Linked DNA regions of Homo sapiens: region 2 is linked to region 1. The links are contacts of gene promoters, found by promoter capture Hi-C in blood cells and fetal thymus (Javierre and others, 2016). All regions are on one chromosome and are shown on one strand. The core of a region is centred on a gene start or on the middle of the fragment in contact, and the rest is flanking DNA. Distances in the headings are between cores, read along the strand shown.

Region 1 (6,373 bases), core at 1,315-3,814:
TTGTGTCGCGAGTAAAGTGCTATTCCCTGGGGCTCAAGAGGGGGGAAGGGCAAGAGCGACAAGGCAAGTTTCTTTCCCATTCACGAATTGAAACTGAAGAATTAATTCGCCTGAAAGACATAAGCGCTCAAACAGCACACGGAATACAAAAACAGCCGCAGCGTGCAAAGGTGACTGGGTGGTCCCCTTGCTTCCGTCCGAGGAGACTGGAAGGGAACAGCCATGGAACGTTTCTGCAAGCGTTAAGAGCAATATTGTCGAGTGATGTGCCGAGTTTTTCCTGCATTCGTAAGTTAGGGAAACAAAATCCCGCTATACAAGTGATTTGTTTCCTTAAAATTCCAAATAGAAAGGATCGTGGGAATTCACATTATTCTTGGGCTCTCATCCGACTGATACCCAAACAAGTTGCAGGTGGAAAGTCGCCTGTATTGTCTCCCTTTGGTTGTGTTTCCCAACTTTTGGAATTTGGGGCTTTACCCTTTAAGCTGCTGCCATTCTCTTTTGTACAAACTAATTGCTCTAGAGGTTCCTCCTATCCTTCTTGACCCCCAGGTCAGAGCCAAGAACCTTAGCTGTTTCCCAAAGATATTTCGTGGGGTTCCCGCTGCCTCCTCTCCTCCCCTTCCCCCTCCAAAGCGACTTTATTCATGACACCGTTTCCTTGCCCATTTAGCTGACTAGGAAAATAACGGTATCAAACGCTTCCTCTTTTCCTTCTTAAATAAAACGAAATTTCCTTAGTGGACGGCAGTTTTGTCTTGAATGTTCACGAGAGGCGACCGCCGAGGATGCGACCAGCAGAGAGAAACGTGGTGGCTGAGATCCGTTTCAGCGTCACTCTCTGTTGGATTCTTCGCGGGAGGTTTAGCTCTGCCAGCTTCTGCTCCCAGGAATAAGGGTCAGAATCGACTTCCAATTTACCAGCGAATGAGGCTTTCCTAACCTCCTTCGTTCCCTCCCCCCATAACTTATGGATTTATATTAATTACAATAGAAACTCTTACCTGAAAATTGGCTTTCATTAATCTGATTGTACAACATAGTATAAACACAGACACCAGGAAGGTTATATTTATTCAGACCACTGGAGAATCCACTTTTCGGGGTTGTTCGTCTATTTAAATACCTTCCGTTCCAGCAAAGGCTGAGACTCGCCAGCTCTGCCCGGCCTGACCAGGGCGCCCTCTCCCCGTCGGGTGGTTTGGGCGGTTCCGGGCCCGGCGTCTCTCACCCCGCTGGTCTCCCCACGCCCGCCGGGTCCCCTAGGAGTGCACTAGCACCGAGTGCAAGGAGCCGCCCTTGCTTTCGGCCGAGGTAGGGGCTGTGGGCTCCAGCAGAGAGGCAACGGGCGAGGCCGCGGCCGCGGAGCACACGGTGGATGGCGCCGGAGGCTGCTGCGAAGCCGCGGGGACAGTGAGCCCCGGCTGCAGCGCGGACACGGGCGGCAGCGCAGGCGTGGGCTTGATGGGCACCGGCATGGCAGGCAGGCTCTGGCTTGCCGAGTGGCACAGGGACTTGACCGGGACCCCGAAGGCCCCATACTCCGGGCCTACAGGGACTCCGGCTGCGGCTGCGGCGGCCGCGGCGGCGGCCACCGAATCCATGACGCCAACGTGCGGCCACACGGAGCTGACGACGTTGCCAAGCTGGCCGGGCACGGGGTAGCCCAGGTGGTGCATGACGGACGCCAAGGGCAGCCCTCCAGCCTGCAGCACGCCCTTGTAGTCCCGGCCAATAATGTTCTCAATGGCAAAGGGGTGCTTGAAGCCTGACGTGGACGCCGCGGCCGCGGCGGCAGCGGCGGCGGCCGAGCCCAGCCCGTAGGGTGGGAACTGAGACAGGCGTCCCACGCTGCCCACCGCGGCTGCCGCGGCCGCCGCCGCCGCCGCCGCCACGGCCGCCGCCTCCTGCATCTTGCCGGGGTGAGACGGCTGCTGAGGCTGCGACTGCTGGGGCGGTTGCTGCGGGGGCTGTGACGGGAGGTGCGGAGGCGGCTGCGGAGCAGTAGGCGGTTGCTGATGGAAATAGTGTACCATGTGCGGCGGCGGCGGGGGCGGCGGCGGCGGCGGCTGGGGTGGGTGGTGGTGATGGTGGTGGTGTGCGGCAGCGTGGTGATGATGGTGGTGGTGGGGGTGGTGGTGGTGATGGGGGTGAAGGTGCCCTCCCGGACCGGCGCCCGGCGCGCTCTTGGTGCTTCCCGCGTGCAAGTGAGTATGGTCGGCGCGCAGCACCTTGAAGCGCTTGCGACGCCGCAGGAAGCTGCCGTTCTCGAACATGTCCCCGCAGTCGGGGTGCAGCGCCCAGAAGCTACCCTTGCCAGGCTGGTCGGGCCTCCGCGGAATCTTGATGAAGCAGTCGTTGAAGGAGAGGTTGTGGCGCAGGCTGTTCTGCCAGCGCTGTGTGTGCTCGCGGTAGTAGGGGAAGCGCTCCATGATGAACTTGTAGATGTCGCTCAGCGGCAGCATCTTCTCGGCCGAGTGCTGGATTGCCATGGCGGTCAGCGAGATGTAAGAGTAGGGCGGTTTTTGGTCGCTGTACGAGCTCTTCCCCGGCCGCGGCATCGCCCCCGGCTCCTCCACCGCCCTCCGGCCCGCACTGGACCACAGAATCTCTCCGCACTCCGTTCCTGGGGCCTGGCTGCCCCCACTAATTCCCACTCGGCCCCTCCAGTCCCGCCACTTTGCCCTCTCGCCCTCCAGGCCCTCTCTGCTTCTCTCTCCTGCCTTCTCCGAATTGCCTGGTGTCTCCGACCTTGGCCTTTCGGGCCTACTCAGCTCTCGGAAGCTGGCAACTTCTGGCCCCGACGGTTGCCGACTGGCGCGCACAGTCGCGGGCGGAGTGCACCAGGTTTACCGCCGCCTTCTCTGCGTCTTCCCCCGGGTGGCCAAAGACTGAGTGCTGGAGCTGGCTGCAGAGGAGAGTGGCAAGGGGCCGTGTTTCCTCCCGGCCTCTTTGCTTTTTCTAGGTCCGAGGGAAACCCAGACCAAGATGGCTGGGAGGAAGGTCTGGGCAGTAGAGACTCTGGCCCTTTAAATCTGAGTTTGCGCCTGCTGTCCTGGAGGCCAGTGACAGCAGGACTTCCAGTGCCCTGGACGCAGGCCCCTGGCCAGGCACTTAGCCAGACCGCGCTGGAGTTCTCCTTTTCCTGGAGTGAAAAATCAGGGTAAGGAGAGAGAAGATTGGCTTCTAGGGCGCCTCTCTTTTCTCCGAGGCTCGCAGCGTCGCCGGGGTTAGAAGAGACGCGCAGCCCTAGGCTGTCGCTGAGGAGAAAAAACTTTGGTGGTTTCTGAAGCGGCAGCGCCCGCAGGTTCTGCTGAGGAGTGTGGGGCGCAGGACTCTGGGAGCGAGCGGCGGGCTGGAGAGGGCGTCTGCGAATGCTGGGTGAGTGCTGGCCGGGGAGGCTCAGCCGTCCGCGCCGCAGCTGCCGCCTTTCTCCCGGGCTTGTCTTGAGGAGGAGAGGCGACGGCAGTGGCAGCGACGCGCTCTCCTGGCTGCGTTTTGTAATGGTCCCCGAGACGCCGAGACCCCCGCAGCTAGCGCTTCGAGACTATCACATGACCGAGGCTGAGGGACTCAGCCGCCGCCGCCGCGTCTGTAGCTGAAGAAGGGGCAAGAAGGCGCCGTGCCTCGCCCCCGCCCCCTTTTCCACCTCGTTTCGGGCGCTCTCCACCCATCGCGTTCACCACTCGCTCGGCAGCCCCCAGCCACCTCCCGGTGCGGCGGGTGGCGCAGGCTGTTCGCCGGGAGGGGGCACAGCTCCGGGTGCATTTCCCGCAGCTGCGCCCCACCCGGGCCACCAAGCACGGTGGAGGGGGAACAGGACACTGCCTTCTTGCTTCTCTTCTCTCTGGCATCTCCCTCTTCCGCCCCCTTCCTTTTACCCTTCCCTGTTTTCATCTACTCGCTGTGAGCTTCTCTCTCCTTACAAACCCTTTTTCCTGGGCTAGACACTCTGGGTCAAGTTCAGAGTATCGTGTCCTCAAGGCCTCTTCTCTGCAAGAAACCCCGATGATTAGAGGGCTGGAGGGAAAAACTCATGGGGAAGAAAGCATGGGGTGTTTTCACCAAATGCCAAATTCATCTCAGTTTTATTGCGCGCCAACTGCATGTGAGGCACCAGGTGCAGGGAGACAGGAGACAGTATCCGAGCTCCACCATCGCGGTATAGAGGGTGAGACGAACAGTAACCAAGAAATTAATAGAATAGGCACTAAAGGGCTTGGCGAATGGAGGCTCCACCACACTTTCCTGGAGCGAGTGAGTTGGACAAGATGAGGTTTCTCTGGGATGGCGATGTCTGAGCTGGGGCCAGAAGTAAGAGTTGGGGATTCAGGGGTCCCATCACCTGTGTGTGCTGGAAGGAAATCTTTGCTATTCTTAGCACGGTGGTGTGGGGCCAGGGCGAGGCAGGAGGTGGAATGGAAATAATTAAATAGGAAGCAAAAATTATCAGTCCACAGGATCCTGGTGTGATCTGCGAGGGAGAGGTGGATGAACCCAGGAGTGAGGTCCTTCTGCTTGGAGGTTCCTGCTCTGCACTCATCCAAACACCCAGCAGGAAACCCCAGTTTACTGCAGGGAGAACCTGAAGTTGTATACTCGTTTTGGCTACCTTTGCCCTTCAGCTGGGAGGAAAAGCAGAGTTTAGAAACAAGTATACTCTCCGTCTCTGGGACTGTTTCATTATTTGTAAAATAGGGTGGCTGAAGTTGGAAATTCACGGGTCCTTTCCCGTTAGGCGATTTGAGGAGAAAGGAGCATTTGGACACTATGGCTCCCTCGGTTTTCCCACGCCTAACCTGGAAGAAAGCCATCGGCCCAGCTGCTTGGGGGGCTGCCCCCTAACTAGCAACCTTGGTGACACCAGATCGGGTGTTTTCAGCTTCTGGCTTTTGGTGAGCTGGACGGTGGGAGCACGTCTGTCCGTGGGGTGGCTTAGCCAGGTCGCAGGAGTGCCGTGAGCGGGTCAGGCCCGTAATTTCCATCTTTAGTCAGGAGCTAGATTTCTGGCTAGCTCTATGTGGCCAGTTTGTCCTAGGCCAGAAGACGTCTGAGAATAGATGTTACGACTGAAGCTTGCAAGAAGGCCCGGGGAAAAGAGCAGCTTCTTGGTCCTAAGCCCTTTTCAAAGTAAGATGTTTTCTCTTTCACTGTATGTCGGAAGCTTTCCTCCTGCCATAGGAGTTTCTGCGCGATTTTTGTCCGCTGAGACACTTGAGAGAGCCGAGCAGCGGACAGCCTCTTGGCCTCGGGAAGCCACAGAATTCCAAGGACGCTCACAGTTTGACAAGAGCCTGCTGGAGCCAGGTGGCTCCTTTTCCTTGGAACAAGACCGTGAGACAACAGCCCTGTCCCAGCCCAGGAAGCTGGGGTCTCCTGCACCGCTGTCAGGCCGCTGCTGAGGAGCTCTGCGTGCCGCACACTTAAGGGCTCTCCGGACTTCGACCCCACACGCAGCTCGAGCAAAGGGATCTTTTGTTGATACCTCGGATAGCATCCCTTCCGCGGGTTGCTGGAACAGCAGAGTCTCCTTTTGGGGAGCAGCTCTGGGACCGTGCCCGTTGGGCACTTGCGGCTCCTGGGAACCGATCGAGGGGAGGGGCCCTTCAGGGACTCCCGGGACAAATCTTGGGCGCATAACGCGAACCCTGAGCACAAAAAATGAGCCAGGCCCTCACTGGGTGAGCTCGCTACAGCCCGCAGACCCGCCGCCACAACCTCAGGTTCAGCGCCAGGGGACGCCAGGGGCTTGGCCAGTGTCTTCGGCCTCGGCGAGCCAGGTTCCACGCAACCTGGGACAAAACAGTCTCGGAGGCTGAGCGAAGCGCCCCGAGCCTCACGCTTCCGCATTCAGGTTGTGCTTGGCGAGGGTAGAAAGTACTTCCCACCACCTAGGCCACAGCCGGACGCGGCGGCCCAGGCCGCAATTGCTGCCTAGAGCGCAGACAGGGAGCTCGGGTCGCGTGTCTGTTTTGGAGAGTGGCGGGCTGCGGCCGCCGCGGAGGATCCTGGGGGATTCCAAGCGCGGCACTGGGCCGGGGTGCAGAGCTGGGGCCGCGGTGGGGAGGGGGGCGCGCTCTCCTCTTCCCCTACTTCCCCGGAGGTTAATTCCGACAAGTTTTGCAGGCGCTCAGTGGCACCGGCGGGGGCCGGAACGCGCGCGCTCCAGCTGCCTGCAGACCCCCTCTCAAGAAAAACAGATCGTGTAACCACCCTGGCACCAACCAGTCGGTTTCAAGTTTCCGCGAGTAATTTTTTTTTGTTGTTTTTAAACAACTACTGCACTATCCAAATATTGGCTGGCGCTCAGGACGCTGGCAGGCAAATCATTGCCCCGGGCTTAGTGTAATTATCTCAGGCGTATTTGGTT
Region 2 (6,373 bases), core at 1,630-4,129, 570 kb after region 1:
AGTCAACAAACTAGAAAATATATGCAATAGTATGTAAGCAAAAATTAATTTTTCAAATAAAGGGGTGTTTACGTAAAAATATGCACCAGGTGAAAAATGGGCAAAGGGCATGATAAGATACTTCACTAAAGAAGAAATCCACATAAAAAGATGCTCAATTTCAATAGGAATTGAAGAAAAGCAAATTAAAACTACAAATCACTTTTTACCTATCAGATTGGCAAAGTTGAAAAAGATTGATAAACATAATATAGATGAAGGTGTAGGAATACAGACTCCTGTGCTGCTCTCTGTTGTAGAGATTTCTACAAACTTTCTAGAAGGCATTTGGACAACATGGATACTTATGGACAACTATTCATCTAGGAATTTATCCTATGTAGGAAATTTTACAAATACACAAAGATTTCAGAATCGAAACACTGTAAACAATGTAAGGGTTGTTAAAAAATAATTTTCAGAGAAAGATAAAATCATGACTCATACAAATATAAAAGTGCACATCTGTTAAGGAATTTACGCATATGCTATAAGGGAATCAGATGTACGTTATAAACATTTCAAAGGAAAAGTCAAAAAGCACAGATTTATCTGGAGTAAAGGAATGTTAAGATGAATTGCAAATGGAAACAAAACTGGTATTTTCATAGGGTGGGGATGGCGGGAACCAATTAAATTATTGCCAGACAGGACAGAATTTACACACCATCAGTTACATATAATTTATAAAAAGAGGCGAATAGGGCCGGGCGCAGTGGCTCACACCTGTAATCCCAGCACTTTGGGAGGCTGAGGCTGGTGGATCACTTGAGGTCAGGAGTTTGAGACCAGCCTGGCCAAAACGGCGAAAACCTGTCTCTACAAAAAATACAAAAAATTAGCTGGGCGTCTGTAATTCTAGCTACTTGGGAGGCTGAGGCATGAGAATCACTTGAGCCCAGGAGGCAGAGGTTGCAGTGAGCCGAGATCACACCATTGCACTCCAGCCTGGGTGACAGGGTGAGACTCTGTCTCAAAAACAAAACAAAACAAACAAAAACGAAAAGGTTTATTTTGTTTGCATATGTAAGCTTCACAGAAAAAAAGTGAAAATCCCAAAGAGGTGCTTAGACCCAGGAGCTTATACAGCATTTTAACAGAGGATGATAAAGTGTGGGAAGCTACTAGACAAGGGAAATGGGGAGAGGCTGCGCTTCTCTGGTGTGGGTAAATTGTGGGAAGGTAACTGGGAAAGGCATGGTAATTAAGGCTTGTTTAGTGAGGTGTGTTATGCAGATGAATTGTTCACCTTATTCTGGTATGGGAGAGGGCATCACCTTTGCAAAGGGAAATTAGGCAAACGTTTGTAGGTAGAAAGAGAGAGGGCAAAGAGTTTTGCTTGTGTCTGCTGTTTCTCAGTTGCCTTTAGCTCAAAATAATCCTTATGCCAATATGGCATGTTTTGAGGTGGCACATTCTTTTTTACTTTTACTATTATCATTTTATTTGCTTGTTTTTTTTTTTGTTGTTTTTTATAGAGACAGGGTCTTGTTTGTTGTTGCCCAGGCTGGAGTGTGGTAGTGTGATCATACCTCACTGTCATCTTGAACCAAGTAGCTAGGACTACAGGTACACACTACCCCGCCCCGCTAATTTATTTTATTTTGTTTTTGGTAGAGACAGGGTCTTGCTTTATTGCCCAGGCTGGTCTCAAACTCCTGGCCTCAAGGGATCTTCTCACTTCAGCCTCCCAAAATGCTGGGATTATAGGCCCTGCCACCATGCCCAGCCTGGGGTGGCATATTCTGATCCCTTTCCCATTGTTTCAGAAAGATGTTTCCATTTTGGAAAAACATAAAATAAATGAACAAATAATAGTAAATTTAGCATTTCTGTCCAAAAGAAAATGACATGTACAGTGAGCAGATGCCCATCAGGGTGTTTACCAGCAAAAACAAGTTAAAAGAAGTACCTGTCTGAATGGATCAACAAATTGCAGCATATCATATTAAAATAATGGAATGACATTTAAGAAAGCAAAATTGATTCACACTTCAACATGGATGAATCTCCAGACCTTATGTGGAGATAAAGATGCCAAACACGAAAGAGTACAGACCGTTTGATTCATGTTTATGTATCTGAAATTCTGGAAGAGGCAAATCTAATCTATAGTGACAGAAAGGAGAGCAGTTGTTGCTGGGGCTGAGTGTGGGGAGAGGAGGGCATTTGCTTTTTGGGGTGATAGAAATGTTCTTTATCTTGATTGTGGTAATAATTGCCTGGGTTAGTAGGTTGGTCAGAAGTCATGGAACTATACACCTAAACAGCTATATTTTATTAAACCATGCCTCAATAAGATTTTTTTGCTGCTGTTGTTGTTTTGAGGTGGGGTCGTACTCTGCAACCCAGGCTGGAGTGCAGTGGCATGATCACAGCTCACTGTAGCCTCAGTCTTCTGGGCTCAAGCCATCCTCCCACCTCAGCCTCCCAAGTACCTGGGACTACAGGTACGTGCCACCACACCTGGCTAATTTTTGTATTTTTTGTAGAGATAGGGTTTCACCATGTTGCCCAGGCTGGTCTCAAACTCCTGGGCTTAAGTAATCCGCCTGCCTCGGGCTCCCAGAGTGCTTGGATTACAGGCGCGAGCCACCGCGCCTGGCTGTGTGTATATATATATATAAAGTGTCTGTTAGTAAAGACTAGAGGGGTAAACAGAAAGCAGACAGCATGTGTTGAGCAAAATCTGGACTCGCTGAGTTTGCAGTGATGATAAACTTTCAGAGTAGAGGCTCTCCAGGCTTCTCAAAGTATTCCTGGACTCAGTGATTCCTATCTGGAAGCCATCTGGACAAAGACGGCTGGCACAGCCATGCCACTAAATGCACTCTTTTGAGGGTAAGAGTGCATAGAAGTTGTGAGGCATTTTCAGTTTCAGGAATCCAGCACAGCAAAGGAAGATGACAGGGTCAGGGCGTACTGGACACAGGGATTGTGGACTGACATGCTAAAGAAGACGGATGAGCCAGGGGGCTCACAGAGTTTTTTTAAAGCTGAGCACCAAAATGCCTATGCTAAATGAACAAGAATGTTCTAGATATAAAAATTATTTAATAAACATCCTCCATACTGACTTGTAAATATTGCGTGAAGTGTGGCAGAGGCCCCCTCTGGTGGTAGTGTGCAAAATCACATGTATAACTATAAAAAAGTTAAGAAATAGGGTGAAAATCAGTCCTAGTGTTTACATACATTAGATGTTAGAGGTATATACTAAAGAGGCAGTTTAGGCTGGGCACAGTGGCTCATGCCTGTAATCCCAGCACTTTGGGAGGCTGAGGCAGCCCGATCGCTTAAGCCCAGGAGTTTAAGACCAGCCTGGGCAACATGGTGAAACCTCTCTCTACAAAAAAATAAAAATAAAAATTAGCTGGGGCGTGGTGGTGCACACCTATGGTCCCAGCTATTAAGGAGGCTAAAGTGGAAGGATTGCCTGAGCCCGGGAGGTTGAGGCTGCAGTGAGTGGTGATCAAGCCACTGCACTCCAGCCTGGGTGAGAGTGAGATCTGTCTCCAAAAAAGAAAAAGAAGAAAAAGAAAAAAAGAAAAGGAAGAAGCAATTCAGCAATATCCACATACCATCCATATCTGTTCTTTTTTTTTTTTTTTTTTTTTTTTTTTTTGACACAGGGTTTCACTCTGCCCAGGATGTAGTGCAGTGGCACGCTCCCAGCTCACTGCAGCCTCAATCTCCTGGGCTCAGACAATCCTCCTACCTCAGCCTCCCAAGTAGCTGGGATTACAGGTGGACGCTACCATGCCCAGTTAATTTTTGTATTTTTTGTAGAGATGAGGTATCACCATGTTGGCCACGTTGGCCTCAAACTCCTGGACTCGAGTGATCTGCCCGTCTCAGCCTCCCAAAGTGCTGGGATTACAGGCATGAGCCACTGTGCCCAGCCTAAACTGCCTCTTTAGTATGTACCTCTAACATCTAATGTATGTAAACACCAAGCCACTATGCTTGGCCCATATATGTTCTTTACTTTGCTTCTTCTCACTTAACACGTTTGGAAAATCATTCCATATTAGTTTATATAAAGCCTCTTTGTTCTTTTCAGTGTCTATCCAGTACGGGGCTATGCCATGATATTCAAATAGTTCCCTAATGGCCATTCCAGTTGTTTCCAGTTTTTTGCTATTATAAACAATGCTACAGTGAATGTCTTCACACATATATAAAACATATGTGTAGTATTAATTGCCGTAAGTGGTATTGCTTGGTCAAAATGTATGTGCATTTAAAAAGTTGATAGGTCTCACCCTCTGTGTGGGGGAAGATGATTGGCAATAGATACCATCAGACACAGGCAAAAGAAACAAGTTCCTTAGACCTTGATAAAGGATAGGAGAATTTAAACTCTAAGAAGATTGCATGGAGCGGGAGTTTTGGCAGCCGTCTTTTCCACAAGGGCAAACTTCCCTGGGTGCTGTGTGCTGGCTCCCATCAGCTTCTGCAAAAACTCTCCTTGTCTTACACCCTCTATATGTTCTGGAGACCCTGGCTATGTTCCTGACCAGAGAAGGGCACTGGAGTCACTCCAGTGCATTCCTGCATAATCTCTGCAAGGGAGACTTGAAGGTCAGTTTCCCAGGGTAAATTTTCTAGATAGATGATCCCCTAGGAACTCCCAGGCCTTAAGCTTCCTGATGACTCTTCATGTCTTCCACAGAGAAATTGTTCCAATTTACATTCTCACCAGCAATGTGTGACTTCCTGTTTCCCCCACACACTCACCAACAGAGCAAATTATCACAGGTTTTAAAAATAATATTTATTGATTTATTTAGGAAATGGGGTCTTGCTCTGTTGCCCAGGCTGGAGTCCAGTGGTGTAATTGACCACAGCTCACTGCAGCTTCAAACTTCTGGGCTTAAGAGATCCTCCCTCCTCAGCCTCTTGAGTAGCTGGAACAGGCACACACCACCATGTCTGGCTAATTTTCGTATTTTCTATTTTTTATAGAGACAGGAGTCTCACCATGTTGTCCAGGCTGGTCCCGAACTCCTGACCTCAAGCATTCCTTCCACCTTGGCCTCCCAGATTGCTGGGATTACAGGTGTGAGCCACCCCACCTAGCCACAGTTTTTATCTTTGCCAATTCTAATAAGTAAAAACTGAGGGAGGCCAAGGCGGGAGGATCGCTTGAGCTCGGGAGTTCGAGACCAGCCTGGCCAACATGTTGAAACCCCATCTCTACCAAAAAAGAAATACAAAAATTAGCTGGGCTTGGTGGTACATGACTGTAATCCCAGCTACTCGGGAGGCTGAGGGACAAGAATCGCTTGAGCCCAAGAGGTGGAGTTTGCAGTGAGCCGAGACTGAGCCACTGCACTCCAGCCTGGGTGAAAGAGTGAGACTGTCAAAAAAATAAATAAATAAATAAGGAAAGGAAAACCTGAAACAAAGAGTTTAAACTTTACATTGCTCTCATGTGTAAGGTACCACATCTTTTCATACAGTGATAATGAGAGATACATGTGTCTATATTCCTAGTAAAGCCAACCCTTCCACTGGGGCACCTGATCCTCATTCCAGGTATAACATCCTCTGATGTTATACTTGAGAACATCATCCGAGCAATTCTTTCTTCTGCAACTTCAACTTTTTTTCTCTCCACAGAATCGTTCCTATCAGCATGCAAAAATGTTATTTCTCCTTTTGACAACCCTTTCTTGAACGCCTTCCTCCTTAGCTACTGCCCTAATTCTCTACTTATAGCAGAGCTTTCCTTTTCTGGAAAGGGCCAGATAGTAAATATTTGAAGTATGGTGGGCTATTTATTCTCTCACAACCTCTTACCTGTGTCCCTCTAGTGTGACAGCAGCCACAGACAGCACGTAAATGAACAGGTGTGATCATAGTTTGCTGCAGTTTACTGACTCCTGCTTCATAGAAAACTGACCTTCATTCCCCCTTGCTGTGGTCAGGGAAGAAGGTGCTGTGGTTGTCGCCTGTTCCTTGCCTTCAGCAGGCTAAGAGCTGAGGTCTCCAGAACAACACAGAGGGCCCAAGAGGGCATCAGCCTCCTTGTGAAAACAGAAAAGGGAGTTTCTGGAAGAACCTGATTGTTTTGTGTCAAAAGAATTGCCTGTATCTGGTGTCTCCAAATTATATTAAACCCTCTCTAATCAGGTGCTTAGTCCCGTGCCTCTAGGGAAACTGCCCCTGTCCATTTCAGCTCTGTGGTTCTAAATCCAGCAGACATTTATCTAAACTTGTTTTACCTGTACTCTCAGCAGCATTTCAGACAAATCGTCACTCCTTGACCTTGAAACCCTTTTTCCTCACCTGGACTCTTAATCCTCATGGTTTTGTTCTCGTCACTCTT

What was found. The method cuts DNA at HindIII sites, captures the fragments that hold promoters and counts their contacts. A CHiCAGO score of 5 or more calls a contact.
Region 2: a fragment that was not itself captured here is called in contact with the fragment with the promoter of FOXB2 in region 1 in 1 of 17 cell types (non-activated CD4 T cells); the score reaches 5.9 in non-activated CD4 T cells.

The regions. Positions count from the first base shown.
Region 1 is chr9:77,015,846-77,022,218 of GRCh38, reverse strand. FOXB2 (forkhead box B2) reads right to left here and starts at 2,564. Exons shown (of 1, transcript NM_001013735.1): 1 at 1,266-2,564. The coding sequence starts at 2,564. The coding sequence ends at 1,266. The HindIII fragment of the contact is 5,221 bases long and covers 1-5,080 here.
Region 2 is chr9:76,444,443-76,450,815 of GRCh38, reverse strand. It overlaps a transcript of GCNT1 not described here. Among named protein-coding and RNA genes, the nearest start is that of GCNT1, 12 kb to the left of the region's middle. The HindIII fragment of the contact is 3,614 bases long and covers 1,073-4,686 here.